Linked DNA regions of Homo sapiens: all the other regions are linked to region 1. Evidence: promoter capture Hi-C in human tissues and cell types (Jung and others, 2019). All regions are on one chromosome and are shown on one strand. The core of a region is centred on a gene start or on the middle of the fragment in contact, and the rest is flanking DNA. Distances in the headings are between cores, read along the strand shown.

The links. Contacts are between HindIII fragments. The study calls those that stand out against the background at their distance.
Region 2: a fragment that was not itself captured here is called in contact with the fragment with the promoter of GLI3 in region 1 in 1 of the 25 tissues and cell types used here (mesenchymal stem cells).
Region 3: a contact is called between a fragment that was not itself captured here and the fragment with the promoter of GLI3 in region 1, in 1 of the 25 tissues and cell types used here (heart left ventricle).

The regions. Positions count from the first base shown.
Region 1 is chr7:42,234,490-42,239,068 of GRCh38, forward strand. GLI3 (GLI family zinc finger 3) reads right to left here and starts at 2,720. Exons shown (of 15, transcript NM_000168.6): 1 at 2,482-2,720. RefSeq lists an enhancer at 2,464-3,445. The HindIII fragment of the contact is 7,383 bases long and covers 1-4,579 here.
Region 2 is chr7:42,564,895-42,570,035 of GRCh38, forward strand. No RefSeq gene overlaps it. Among named protein-coding and RNA genes, the nearest start is that of LINC01448, 140 kb to the right of the region's middle. The HindIII fragment of the contact is 3,800 bases long and covers 1-3,263 here.
Region 3 is chr7:42,698,954-42,703,913 of GRCh38, forward strand. All of the region lies in intron 1 of LINC01448 (long intergenic non-protein coding RNA 1448), which reads right to left. Among named protein-coding and RNA genes, the nearest start is that of LINC01448, 5.0 kb to the right of the region's middle. The HindIII fragment of the contact is 4,607 bases long and covers 384-4,960 here.

The DNA of each region.
Region 1 (4,579 bases), core at 1,470-3,969:
GAAATAACTCTACAGAGCCATTTTTCATCAGTATTGAATTTTCTCATTTCTGTCTATGGTCCTTTGCAAATTAGATATACAATAGAAATGTGTTTATATCAAGGTTCAGTCAAGGAACACAAGCATGTTAAAGGCACTGGGAATTGGTAGGCATCTGAGTTGGACCTACCAGCCTACTAACAATAATACAATCTATATCTTTAAAGTGTTTCTGCTTGTGTGAAATTTCACTAGACACCTCTCACATTGGACTCATTCATGCATCTTAAACCAAAGCTTCCCTAGGCTGACTTTAAGAATTGCATACCCTGAAAGGATCTCCCCTTAGGCGGGGAGTTTCTAATTAAATAGCTTTTAGTATAAAATAAACTCTCTACTCTGTATAAGCATGCTATTACAACTAATTTAAATGTTATTTCATGTTTGTTTTAGGTTTGAATATAGTTTAACTGGCCAAAGTGTTTGTGTACCAGGTCGTTAAGACCAATATTTCCTAACATAAACAAATTCTTCAGATACTTCACAGAGTTTACATTGTTAAAACCAGTCCCGGCAGCTTTAATATATCCCCTCAACTGAAATACTGTTCTGCTTTAGAAAAATTAAGAGATTTTGAGGCTATTTCACTATTTTAAAACATAGCATTTTCCTCCTTCAAAAGAATCTTGACACATGTAATTAAGAAACTGTCAGACTACTATTAATTTTTAATCTAAAACCTAAATGAAATAATTACAGGAATCAATCAATAAGGCACCTATTCAAAATTACCGAGCAATTACATAAATACTCAAAATTAATACTTTAGGTCAATTCTTGTAGATTTCGGTCTATAATATGCTAAGACATCAAACAACACAAAAAGTGTAGCATGGGGAGGATGAATGGTTCCTGCCTTAAATAGACTGAAAAGAGCTCATTTCAGACGGCCAGGGTGCAGGCCCCCCACCCGCCATGCCCAATGCGCTCAAGCTGAAACTCTTTTATTTTTAAAAGTTAATTTATTTCCACCAGACACATATTTCAGGGATCTAAAAAAACGGCCTCATCCAAATTCTGTACAAAAATCACATTTAAGAGGGAAAGGCCTAATTACTCGAATTTTCAGCAAAGTGTATATACTGTGCTCTGGAAAGCCTAACTGGAGAGAAGAGGGAGGAGAGGAAAAGGGGAGCAGGAGGTATTTTTTAGAACTAATAATACCAGCCCGGCTAATGGCACTGCCATGTATTTGCACAGCGGCCGGCCCTCCATACCTTTGACTAAAGGGTTCTTTGACTTGGAGACGCAGACAGTCCATCATTTCAAACTGAAGTGGCAGCTGGAAAATGTGGAACAGCTGGCAAAGAGCTGGGAGAAAATGTTTTACATAAATATATGTACATATAAACTGGCAGAGGGCCATGAGCACTGTACCCAAGGCCAGAATCTACCCGGCAGTCTGCACTGGGGAGATGAGAAGTTGGGGCAGGATGACCAGCGGCGGAGGGAGCCTCCTTAATCCTCTTTCCACGCGGGGTCAGGCAGGGAAGCCTGGGGTGCAGCGCCTCTCGGGGGACGGCATCTTACAGAAGGAGGTGCAATGGGGGACAGGAGCACAAAGTTCAGGAAAGGATAAAAGGCCGGGTGCGGGGTGGAGCGTCCGCTTCGGACAATCTGCTTAAAAGTCGCTTCACAAACTCTGCAAGTTTGGGATCAATATTTACACCCTCTCTGCCTTCTCCCGCCCGTTTTCCCGCTGCTACTCAAGAAAGTAACTGTCCCCTGCTGCTCTGTGTAAACGCGGCACCTTAAATGATTATTGCATGGACCACGGTTACTTTGTGTGTCTGTGCGCGCTGCCCCTGGAAAGGAAAAGAAATAAGAGAATCCCAAATCATATACAGATGGTACAACTTTCACTTTTCCTCTATGACGACGAAGGCGCGCCTCTCTCCATCCGCTCACACCACACCCCCGCCCTCCGAAGCATAGCCCGGGCTGGAGAAGCCCCAGCGGCGGCGGCCCCCGCGGCGGAGGTCCCCGCGCGCACCCACCATGCCTCCCGCCTCCTTCCGCCCATCCCGAGCGCCGTGCGCGCCCGAAGCCCGAGCCGTAGAGCGCCACCGCGCAAAGGAAGGAGCCAGGCGCGTGCGGGGCTCGCGGAGTTCTTCTGAACCCTTTGGATGGGGGCGGAGGCGAGGGGCGCCGCCACCACTGCGGCAAACTTCGTCCCCCCTCCGGGAGGTGAAATTCTCCAATCCGTCTCCGGCCGGTCCGCGGGTCGGACTCTTCGGAAAGGACCTTCCAGGAGGAGGGAGCGAATGCAAGCCTTGCTCGGACGCCTCACCGGCGGCTCTCTAAATCTGGGCGCCTTTTGACAGCCATTTTCACTCCATCCCGTCCCCACGCTGGGGACCACCTCTGGCCCCGGAGGCGCGGGCGCGGCCGCAGGAGCGGGCTGCGGGGTCCGCGAAACAAAGAACTTCGAGCGGGACGTACCTGCGGCGGCAGCGGCTGTCAAGTCCCCGAACTTCCCATAGACCCGCGGACGGGGCGCAGGCTGGCGGCTCCCCGCTCCGCGCGGCCGCGGGCGGCTACGGCTACCGCGAGCGGCCGGGCTGGGCGCGGGGTGCGCCCGCCGCGGGCATGGTGCGGCGCGGGCGGCCGCGGGGCGCGCGGGGAAGGCGGGAGAGCGGCGCGGGTGAGTGGGAGCGGCGGGTGTGCGCGAGTGCGAGTGTGCGAGCGCGCCGGTGGCGCTGCCCCTGCCCGCTCCCTCCCGCTCGTGCAGCTCCGGCATCAGTTTCGGGGATCGTGTAATCCGATCCCTTCTGACTCACAAGCCCTGAGTGACAGTTCTGATTTGGTTCAACCGCGGGAGGGAGGGGAAAGAGAAAGAAAGAAACCCCCAGCCGTACGCCTCTCCTGGCATCCAATCGACTTTCTGGAAAAAGGTCCCATCCCGGCCTGGTGCCCCGTGCTGGGTGGAGAAGCCCCCCGCCCCGACCTGGCACCGCCTGCACTACTCACGGGGTGGAAAAGTTGTCCCTCGGCTCCGCGCTCCCCTCCCGCGCGCTCCCTCCTTCCCTTCTCTCCTCCTCTTCCTCCTCCTCCCCGCGCTCCTCCTCCCCCAAGTTTTAACAGATGTTGCCGGACTCTCCTCGCTCCCTCGCACTCTCTCTTCCTCCGCCCCGGCCCCCGCCCAGTCCCTTTTCTTTCAGCCACTCTCGGGCTCGGAGGGGACGCGCTGAGCAGCAGGACGCCTGCCGCCGCAGGGGGCGAAGTTGGGAAAACTTGGAGTGCTGCTCGCCTTACTTTTGCTTTCTCGCTCCTTCCAGGCCGCGCCGGGAGCCCCCGCTTCTCCCGCCCGCCGGGTCCCCAAGCCCGGAGTGGGTCCCAGCTGCGAGGCGGGCGGCGGCGGCTGGGAGGCGGCGCGTCGCGGGCCGGGGTCGGGGGCTGGGGGGGAGCCCGGGCGCCGCGAGCCACGCGCGCGCTCCCTCCCCGCCCTCCGCCGCCGCCGCCGCCGCCGCCGCCGCCTCCTCCTCCTCCTCCTCCTTCTCCTCCTCCTCCTCCTCCTCCGCCCCTCCCCGGTCTTCACACAGACACATTCATGCCTGCTCCTCCTCTTCCCCCTACTTGACCCCGCGCCCTCCCGGCGCGCCGAAGCCCCACCCACCCGGCGAGGGGAAGGGGGCCCGGGCGTGATGTCACCCGCGCCCTCTCTCTTCTCTCTCCACACCGCCAGGACACCCCCCAAATGCGCGCCCTGGCACTCGTGCTGCGTCCTGTCTGCTCCCATCTTCTCCCACCCAGCCTCTCTTTCTCACTCTTGCTCAAGGGCTGGACTCCCCTTTATTCTTTTAAGGCTTCTCTGATTACCACCGCCCCCCATCCTTGGCTCCCCATCTCCTTGTTTTACATTTTCCCAAAGCCATCCCCGAAACTCCCTCTCGCGGGATGATGCCTTTGGAAGTTCAGGGTTTTTCTCTCCACCGGACTCGTCTGCCCTCGGGGCCAAATCCGCGAAGCGAGGAGGAGCTCCCACCACACAGCCTGCTGTCCCTATGGGCCACTTTATAAAAGACACAAAAACAAAGACCCCAGGCTTGGAGCCTGGTCTCTAACGTGCCGCTTTTCCTTGAGCTACAAAGTGTCTCTGTCCCTGCTTCATTTTCAGAGGCCCATGCTAGTAAAAGTTATTTGGCCTCCTTCCTCGACCATCCAGTCCTTGTTCATCTGCGTCATTTTAATATATCCAACCTGGACATGTAACTTAAAAAAGGAGTTCTCGGGGGGAAACACAGGAAGAAAAAGAAAGAAAAGAAAGCCCCTGTGACATTCCAACATCCCCTCTTTCTGGTTAAGCCGGGTCCACCCAGCCAGAAGTGCCCCGGAGCTCCGGGTTGCTTGTGTGGCGTTGCCGCCAAGTGTCTTGACTGAAGGAAGAGTGTGGGTGGATGAATGATGAGCTATTAGAATTTGAAGAGCATTTTGAGATTCAAATGCTTAACTGAAGAATCTTTTAACGAAATTGAGGGTGGTATTCATTGTTTGTTTCTTGGGACTCCTTCCTTGTCACAATGACATGACAAGTGCAGAG
Region 2 (5,141 bases), core at 114-2,613, 330 kb after region 1:
TTACCATTTCACACAGTATATGTGCATAGTTATTTAAATGTTCATGTCTGATAAATCAAATATCATTTATCAAAATCAAATTTCCTACTGATTTATTTCTATTGTATGTTTTTCTGCTGTGCTTTGATTAATTATTATCTTCTTTTTTTTTTTTTTTTTTTTTTTTTTTTTTTTTTTTTTTGAGACGGAGTCTTGCTCTGTCGCCCAGGCCGGACTGCGGACTGCAGTGGCGCAATCTCGGCTCACTGCAAGCTCTCTGCTTCCCGGGTTCACGCCATTCTCCTGCCTCAGCCTCCCGAGTAGCTGGGATTACAGGCGCCCGCCACCGCGCCCGGCTAATTTTTTGTATTTTTAGTAGAGACGGGGTTTCACCTTGTTAGCCAGGATGGTCTCGATCTCCTGACCTCATGATCCACCCGCCTCGGCCTCCCAAAGTGCTGGGATTACAGGCGTGAGCCACCGCGCCCGGCCAATTATTATCTTCTTGTATGCCTGATTATTTTTGTTTGTGTATAGACATTGTGTTGTAGAAAATAGAATGGAGTTTTAAGGTGTTATATGATGTTCCATTAAGAATAATAGGATTTACTTTTGCTTCAGGTAGACAACTAAACTAGAGTCACATTATATTAATCTATTAGAAACTTAGAAGACTCAAATTTGGTTTCAGTCCTTGTGAGGACTCTTCTTTCCATTTTACCATTACTTCTAAGATGTAGCCTTTAGGATAGTAAGTGAAAAGCTGGCATTTTTACCAGGGTCTTTCTTTCCTGGTCTCTAAACTGCAACTTTTGTCTTTCTACCTCATTGTATTTGCCAAAGACCTGCTCAGCCTCTTGGCCATTCACATACAGCTTTTCATTCTGAAATTGGCAATCACTTGATTTCCCTTTTCTTTCAAATCTTGATCTTGAAACTATCATTACCTTGACAGATTTCTGATACTTTCAAGCAGATTTTTTAAAGTATTTTGTCCGTTTTTCGACTTGTATTCTGCCTGATTGTTGATCTGAAACAACCTACACTGCTATCACTTTCAGTGGAATTCCTCTTTGGGGGTATTTAGTAGGCATTTTGGAGAAGCTTTGTCATGGGCTACCATGAGGGTCAATTTTAAACTTGAAGTTTAGGACATGATTTTTGAAGGAGAAACCTTAGAACTTTTTCTTCTAACCTGTTAATTTCATAAATGTTAATTAGAGTAAGAATGGAAAATATTCCAAACTATTACATATATTAAGAAAATGCCGTTAGATTCTTCCTAGCAATCTTTAAACCTAAGGAATATATTTATTTCTATTCTCAGGGATGCTTTTGTATTTTCTTACTGTAATAGTAAGTTGCAGTGTTGACAGGATGAGTAGATGGTATCTCTCAGAGACTCTTAATCTTCTTTCAGATCAATTTCATTAACTTTCCTCAGGTAAAGCAGGACAAAAACCAGATATTTTTAGCAATGACTGGCTAATAGGTTCATTTATTAAAAATTTTACCAAATATCTAGTGAATGCTCTTGTTATTCCAAACCTGTTGTTGCTACTGCATAAGATTTGTTTTTCCTTAAAAGTTTCTAACCTAAAATGCCTCTCCATTTTTTGATGTTCTGTATTGCTTTAGGTGGGACCCTTTTTTTTTTCTTACTTACAGACTCATGAAACCTAATCTCTGACACTCACCACTTGGCTTTTGGCCTAATCAAGGTCCTTTTACTTCAAACTAGTTATTTCATCCTTGTAATTAGTAGAAATTTACCGCATATTCTGGCAATGGGCTGTTTGTAAGTTCTAATGTTCTCTGTTGTTATGAATGTTTATGTTTTTCTGGGCCTTTAATAGGTAATTTAGTAGAAACAGGAAGAAGCTGTTTTTTAAAAATATATATCTTTAATCAATATTGATGATATAAAAATGAAAGAAGATGATTAGATTAAAATAAATAACCAACTGTGGCCCAAATTATAGCATATTTTAGTCTGAAAATGCCAGGCTTTTCCAATGAACATTTTCAGGCAATAAGTGACTTGCCCCAAGTCATAAATTAAATAGACAATTATCTCCATTTGTTTAGGAAAAAATGGTCACTGCCGGAGAGCAAATAGCTTGCTATTTTCTAGGTTGCGGTGAAGTGGACTACACTGCCCTCTTTAAAATAATATGCTGCAGAGATCCACCTCTGGGGTTGAACAACAAATCCATCTTTAAAGGTCGAATGCCACACTCAGGATATGTTCTATGATCTTCCTAAGGCAATGCTGCCTTAGAAACTAAGTAAAGTTCTGTTGCCTTTAAAGTATAAATAGAGGCTCAAGATTCTGTAAACAGAAGATGAATAAACCAGCTAGGGAAAAAAAGAAAGCTTGCCAAATAACAACACTAGGCCAACTCCGAGAGAGCAAAGCCCTTGCTGGTATTTATCCACACCCGTTCTGTGTGTCACTTCCTTTGTCATCAACAACAGGATGACTTTTCTAAATCCCATTGTAATGAGTAGTTGAAAAACGCAGGCATTTCTTAGTAAATAAATATTTCATATTTAAGGGGTTTCTCAGTGGGGCACTTCCAATCTGTAACAAATGACTTACGGCAAATTCTAATGATGTTTCTTGCCATGGCAAGAATCATTTAGAGAGAGGGCCAATATATATGTCCAGGGTTACAATGCCATGGGGTATAAAGTCTGGAAGCTGAACTGTGGCCACTGGATCTAAAGCAGGTACCTCACTAACCACGCTTGGAACATTTTCTTGGGGATGGGTTCAAAAACTTCCTAATGATCAGAACCACAAATTAGAATAGGACTAAGCATAGGTGGCTTTCTCTAAGATTTAATATGTCTCCTAAATGTCCAGAATGATGCCTAAAATTAACTTATTGATCAATATTTTGATTAAGACACTGAGGGAACCTCTCAAAATGCAAATATTTTCTGGGAGAAGATATTAAATAATGCTGAGCATTAATAATCTAATGAAATGACTTTTCAGAGATCAGATAATGATTCATTTAGCAGAGCCCTGAGGAAATGAGAAATAAACATGTAGTTTAGGTAAGAGAGAAGGGTTGCACAAATTCTGGAGTGCTAATGCTATAAGCAAGGATTTCTACTTGATATAGAATTAATTTACTTACTGATGTGTCTTTGGTAAATTGTTCCAGCCTTTTCTGTTACTTTTTATGTTTGTACACTTTTATCTAACCAACACAGCATGGGATAGGCCAATAGTTAGAATACCATGGAGTGAAAAAGCAGGAATAGAGAGCCCAGCAGGAATTACAAAGGTCCTGGGATTATTTCCTAGAGTCCAAGCCTTATAAATTGTAATGCAAAAGAAATTGATGGTCAAAAACTGTACTCTTGGAATGTTGAATGTAGCAGCCCTGTTCAGAAGTGCATGCTTGTACCCAAATATGACTCTACACATATGTGGTCTAAAATCTGTCTCCAAAAACCAGTCTACTGGAGAAACTGAGGTGACTTGGCATGTACCCACAGGTTTGTGGCACACTAACTGGATGAGTGGTTACAGATGAGGATCACAGAGGGAAGAATCTGGGAATCATGGAGAAAGCTGTAAAGCCCTGACAGATAAGGTAGGTGTAGGACTTGGGCAGAAAAGGGGTACCAAATGACAACAAAGGTCAACTTTGCAACTTCATGGTTTTGTGATGGCTGGGTAACAACCCAAATGTACACACTACCAATTGCCGACTGAATACTCAGTCAACAGCTGCGAGGCAAAACTGATGTTTATGGAATTCTACTTCAAACTATATTTAATATGTTAGAGGTTTGTCATTCAAAGATAATCATTTAAAAATATCCTAAATGGAAAACTACTTAATCTCAGTTTAAAAAATGGACTTTCTCCTAAAATAATAGAAATTCTAGCTATTCAACCGAACAGGCATACTCAAAGGCTCATGCAATAACTTTCTTCAAGGTTTCTACCCTGAGATTCTGTGTTAACTTCTCAGATATTTTCCAGGTCTAAAATTCTATGTGTATCAGAGGTAAATTTTTAAATCATCAGAATCAAAATCATACTGCTGGGTTAGAAAGAACCTTCACTATCAGGTGAGGAGTCCACCTCCATCTGATGATTTGATCTGATCTGCACTTGGATTACTTAGTGATGGGGGGACACACCTCATTCCATGCCTTCAGAGGGTAAGCTTCACTCTCAGGAAGCTCTGCTTTATTTATACTTTCCATTCATTGGTCTTAGGTCTATGCCTTTGTTTTATAGACAATTTCATGTCTTCATAAAGACAAATGTTAAAAATTTTTGAGTTGCTCTTTGGATAAAAAGACATTGGTATAGTTTTGAGTCTTTTTTATCCATCAGATTTTCTTTCTGGTAAATTATACTTTTCATATATTGAACATAACTGAACAGTTTTTTCAAACATCCTAAGGCTTGGTATGTAGCGGTACAACTACAAAACTGAAATGCCTTTTAAAATATAGTCATTTTAAAGGTAATAATTATCTTCAAGAGTGTGAATTCATGAGCAAAAATAGTCGTAGTTGTTATAGGCAAATATTTAATAAATTTAAAACAGAAGAGCTTATTTATTCAGTAAATAGATATTCTTTCTGCCAAGCCCTGTGCTTTGTCTTAGAGATACAGTGGGGGAAAAGGAATAGCTACATCCTCAAGGAGCTATTTTTGGAGAAAAAGATAGGATAACAGGAACAAGATAATAGAGTACATCATGTTAAATGCTACGAAAGAAAAAGTGCAGTTCTACAGGGAAAGAGGAAAGCCATCTAAACAAGTCATAGAGGTAAGGAAGAGAGGTAAGGGAAGGGTGTGTAGGACTTAGCCTGATGAAGGTGGTCATTGTGTTGTTGCGTTGGGCAGAACTTAATGGTGTGGAAGAGGTCTTCCAAAAAGAGAGGTTACTGGGATAGTTTGCAAATGAGAGAAATGGCATGTTGAGAAAACTGCAATTGTTCTTTGGGAAGCCGAGGTGGGTGGGTCACGAGGTCAGGACCAGCCTGGACAAGATGGTGAAACCCCTCTCTACTAAAAATACAAAAATTAGTAAGGTGTGGTGGCAGGTGCCTGTAATCACAGCTACTCGGGAGGCTAAGGCAGGAGAATTGCTTGAACCCGGGTGGCAGAGGTTTGCAGTGAG
Region 3 (4,960 bases), core at 1,437-3,936, 460 kb after region 1:
TTTTTTTGGCAACTTCACATTTCAATCCACAACTGCTAGACACACTAAAGTATTATATTTGCAGTTAGCCTATGCAGCGTGCAGATTTTTCCTAATAGAGTTCTACTTTAAGTCTGCCTCTGTTCTTATCCATAGAAGGGGAAAACTTAAGCCAAAAAGGAAAAAAAAATTGGATGATTGCCACATATCTCTGCAAATATGGGTTGGACGTGAAATAATTTAAAATGCGGTAAAACTTAGTAATTTAGCATATGGGTTAGTGAACATGCACATATTTTGCCAAGAGCCTGCACACAGATGAAAAGCCCATTTTCTAGACGCCAATTCATGGGGTTCTACAAGCCCCTTGTTTACTTTATTCATTGCAGAGCCTATTTTTATTTGTAGTTTTTGTGGCAAAATTGTTGGTAGCAACTATAAAACCCAGGCAAAAGTCTTAGGAATGATCCTTTGCTACCCACATTTATATCAGCAATCAGCGGGGTTGGGGGGTGGGCGGGGAGAAAGTGGATAAAGCAGTGAAATATAGACCTGCCAAGTGATTGCAAAAATTAGGAAACTCCTCTTGAAAGAAAGTAGTGGGTTATATACGGATGTTCTAACCTTTCATGTGTTGGATGTACCCCAGAAGTTATATATCTCTGTTGTCAGCAGCCACATGGAGGTAGATAAGGGGAGAGATTCCAGTCTCTTTCAGCATTCTGTGTATCATTTCCATGTACAAATATCTGCTTCAGTGTCAGCAGTTCTGTACAGAGAAAAAGCACGTGGAAGGGACGAAAGAACAGAGCAGCCAGGTTCCAAAGAACAGAGCAGCCAGGTTCCGAGTAGATAAGGCTGTCTGTCACCTTTTCAAGATTGACCTCAGCCTTTCAGGAAACCGAGGTAACAACATGAAACTAGTGAATTCCAGTGGAGAAACACTGAGTTGAATATTTTCAGCATCCTGGGTTTTCCAGGATTTTCACAAGTGAGAAATGCAGAGACGATGGTGATAGGGAAGCTCCAGCCTGGGCCACACAGCAGCGTCAGTGCCTGCAGGACAGCAGCTGGCACTGGTGGTGGTGAAGGCAGCGAGGCTGGTCCGAAGAAACAGAAGGAGCAGCAGATACTTTTGAACCTCATGTTAATACTCTAACAAAATCTCTTTTACTTCATTTATTACAAATTGGCAAAGGAAAAAGAAACCATGTTAACCAAACAAACAAAAACAATAAAAAGTTAAAAATAACAGAGCAGAAAGCATGACTGCAGAGTGCCAATGGTCATTGTTCTCTTTAGCTTGTGCTACTTAAGAAAGCTTCATCTGCTTTTTACTTTTTTGTTTTCCAGATTTTCTGTGATCACTTTCTTTCTCTTCATCCTCATGTATTTAATTTTTGTACTGATTTATTTATTAATCTGTGTTTTAAAAAATCATATCATGTTTCAATGTCGTGAGGTTCTATTAAGCTTAGATTGTAAATATTATATTCTAGAGAATTTACTGAGTCAGAAGAGAGATGAATAAAGCCAAGTTCATCAGTCGAAGCTTCAGGGACATTTAGATAAATAAACATAATCATTGCATTGACAATAGTTAAACACCATCTGGTGAGGATCAGTTCCTGAAATGGAAAAGCTGGGAGCCAAGTGAGTAAAGTGGGAGAGAGACTCCTTCTGGTCAGGGAAAACATAGAACTTGGGTTCAGCGTGGGAGTACTGCATTTTTAAATTTCTGTCTTAGCATCTATGGTTAGCGAAACCGTCCCCCTGCTCCCTAATAGAGAAGTCACTTTGAAGGTAGGTGGTGGCAATGTGGAGCTCTGACAGATAAGAGACCTCTAGAAATCAAATCCTTCATTACTGCTTCCCAATGAATCTGAAGTCATTGGAAATAGCAGAAAAATTATGTAAGTGCTGTGACATCTTACTCAGAGTTAATGGGGTTTCTCGTATACCTGCTATGTGCCAGGCATGGTGCTGGAGGCCATAAAGTCATGTGACCTTGAAGGACTTTTGGCTCCTACCATCAAGTTTTGGAAGAAGTTGAAAGGAGTCTTTGATAAAACTTGGTGAAACTCCAAAGTTAAATTAAGCAACAATTGATAAGAACTGGGGACCCATTTCTGCCTTGGCTCACATGATTACTTGCTCTTTCCTATTTCTCCTCCTTCTTTCTGGCCCTGATAATCCTGACAGTCCCCATTCCTGGTTTGGGCAGTGCCACCCGGCACAGAGTAAGAACTGGGCTGTCCAACCATGGACCCAAAGGGAGTCACAGCCAGACCTCAGAGGATTCTCAGCTTTCAAACCTATAGACCTGGATGCCAGGCCTCATTCTTTCACTTTCCATCTCTGTGACTATATTCATCAAAGCTTTCCCAGGAAATGGAACCAATAGGATTATCTATCTATCTATCTATCTATCTATTCATCTATCTATCTATCCCTCCATCTATCTTTCATCTATCATTACCTAAAGAGATTTATTATAAGAAATTGACTTATGAGATTATGGAGGTTGAGAAGTCCAAGATCTGCAGTTGACAAGCTAGAAACCCAGGAGAGCTGATAATGCGATTCCAGTCCAAGTCTGAAGCCCTGAGAAGCAGGAGAGTTGATGGCATAACTTCCAGTCAAAGTTTGAAGGCAGGAGAAGAGCCCTGTTCCAGCTCAAAGACACTCACAGAGAGAGAGAGAGTTCTCCCTTCCTCAGCTCTTTTGTTCCAATCAGGCCCTCAACAGATTCAATGAGCCCCACACACATTGAGGAGGGCACTGTGCTTTACTCAGTTCACCAATTCACATGTCAATTGCATCCAGAACCATCCTCACAGACACACCCAGAATAACGTGTGACCAAATATCTGGGTACCCTGTGGTCTAGACAAGTTGACATGTTTTGATGTGACCTTGGGCAAGTTGCTTAATCTCAGAGCACCTCAATCACACATTTGTAAAAATGGGACTAATTCCTCACTGGGCTAATAGGTTTAAATTGTAGGCAACATCTTTGGCACAGTGTCCGTTCAGTGGGAAGGACTTAATGATCAGCAGGTATCAATCATGTCCACAACAGTTATCATACCCCAGGAACTTTGTAGGTGTCAAGCTCTATGACACCAACGCTTTAGACATATTATCTCACTTAATGCTCACATCAACCCTATGAGGTGTTTTTATCCCCATTTTATAGTTGAGTAAACTGAGGCTCAGTGAGTTATACCTTGTCCCTTGGTCACACCAATAAGTAGGCCATAAAGCTAGTATTTGAACCAGATGTTCTAACCCCAGAGCAAGCTCATAGCTGTTACACTGTGTTTCCTCAAGCTAGAGGCCACACGAATTACATAAAAGTTAATTAGCCCACCATCATTACTTATTTTAATTTGTAGCATTACAATAGTATTATTCTCTACCATTTTTTATTATAAATACAAAGTATTCCAGCTATGTTATGTGGTAAGTAGGTTTTTATAAGGTAGCCTGGAAGCCTAACTGCCATTTATAATACCATTTCTGAAAATGTGATCTGAATTTTAAACAACCAACCTAAAAATGAGCTTTGAATAGTGACATGTTTTCAAGTTGGGGCCCATTTGCTGAAATCAGCAAAACGGGGTAATGCTGGTTCAAGTTGTTTCATTACAGGTTTCTTTAAACATTGTTGAAGGTTGTTCTATGAAAAGCTATGCTAGTGTCTCTCACAGCACTCCATATTATTGGACTAGGTAGCCCCAGGACACAAAAATCAAAAGTATTCCCCTGAGTACTCATCCAAGTCAGCAGGCAACTGAATTGTAGGCAAACTCTGAAGTAGGGGGAAATAAGGACAGATTTGCAAGTTCTAGCTTAGAAATTCAAGAGACTTTCAGGCACCCCACCATGCAGGCATCCCCAGTGCTCTGTCCCTGCAGAGGCAAGGGCTCCCACTTGCCCTGCCCACTTAGAGCAGCTTCACAAGCACTCGAACACTGGAAACAGAAGGGCCTCAGTTTGGCTCACAATTAGCAACTTACTAGCTGTGCAACCTTGGCTTTCTAATTAAAATAACATCTCTAACCCTCATTTTTTTTCCATCTGTAAAATAAGTCTAATCATAACTATTTGTAGGATTGCTGTGGGATTACATAAAAGCTTTTATATATAGTTCCTGGCAACTGCGTACACCTTCAGTATAGAGCCATTCTTCACAACTTCTCTTATCTTTTCTGCTATAATTTCTGGGCAGGTTGAAGGTAGAGATAACAGTGATTGTTACCCATGGCCTGAGTATAGACAGCCAAGAAAGTGGTGGAGGAAGGAAGGAGGCTGGGAAGTGTTGCCCATACTTTTGGCCATGAGAAACCCAACAAAGCTCTGCCAAATGTGGGGTTCCCATTAGTGAGGCTTTCTAGGTTCAGGTTTCATTTTTTAATTTCTGCCCTGAAGACATGCTGATGGGAAACAGAAATACCTTTATTCCACCTGGATTTCAGGCAGCTTGTTCTTAGGCTGCTGCAGGCACCGGGCCCTTCCTGGAAGAGGCAAGGAGGCCAGGCCCAGGTGGGAAGGCCAGACAGTTCAGTAGGGTCACTGCACCTCTCTCCTTCCTTGTCTTTGCCAACTTTGAAGAAAGCCTATTTGAGCTAACATTTATCCTAAATGCACTTTCTGAAAAACTAATGCAAATCTAATAGGTAAGATCTTTATTCCAAGGAGCAAATGCTTCCAAATTATACCCCTATTAAAAAATACAATTTAAAAACCACATGGCAATAACAAAAAACTGAAGGGTCCATAAATTAGGAAAGAGTCATACCCTTGTGCAAAATAAAACTCTGGTCTATAAGACACTTCAATCCAACCAGAAATTCTGTTTGCCCCTGGGTTTTACATATCCTCAGTTCGCTCATCAGTACAATTTGAGAACTTAGAAATAAAAATAATAGAGATACTTTAGTACTCAATTAGTCATTCTGCCTACTGAAAACAAGGA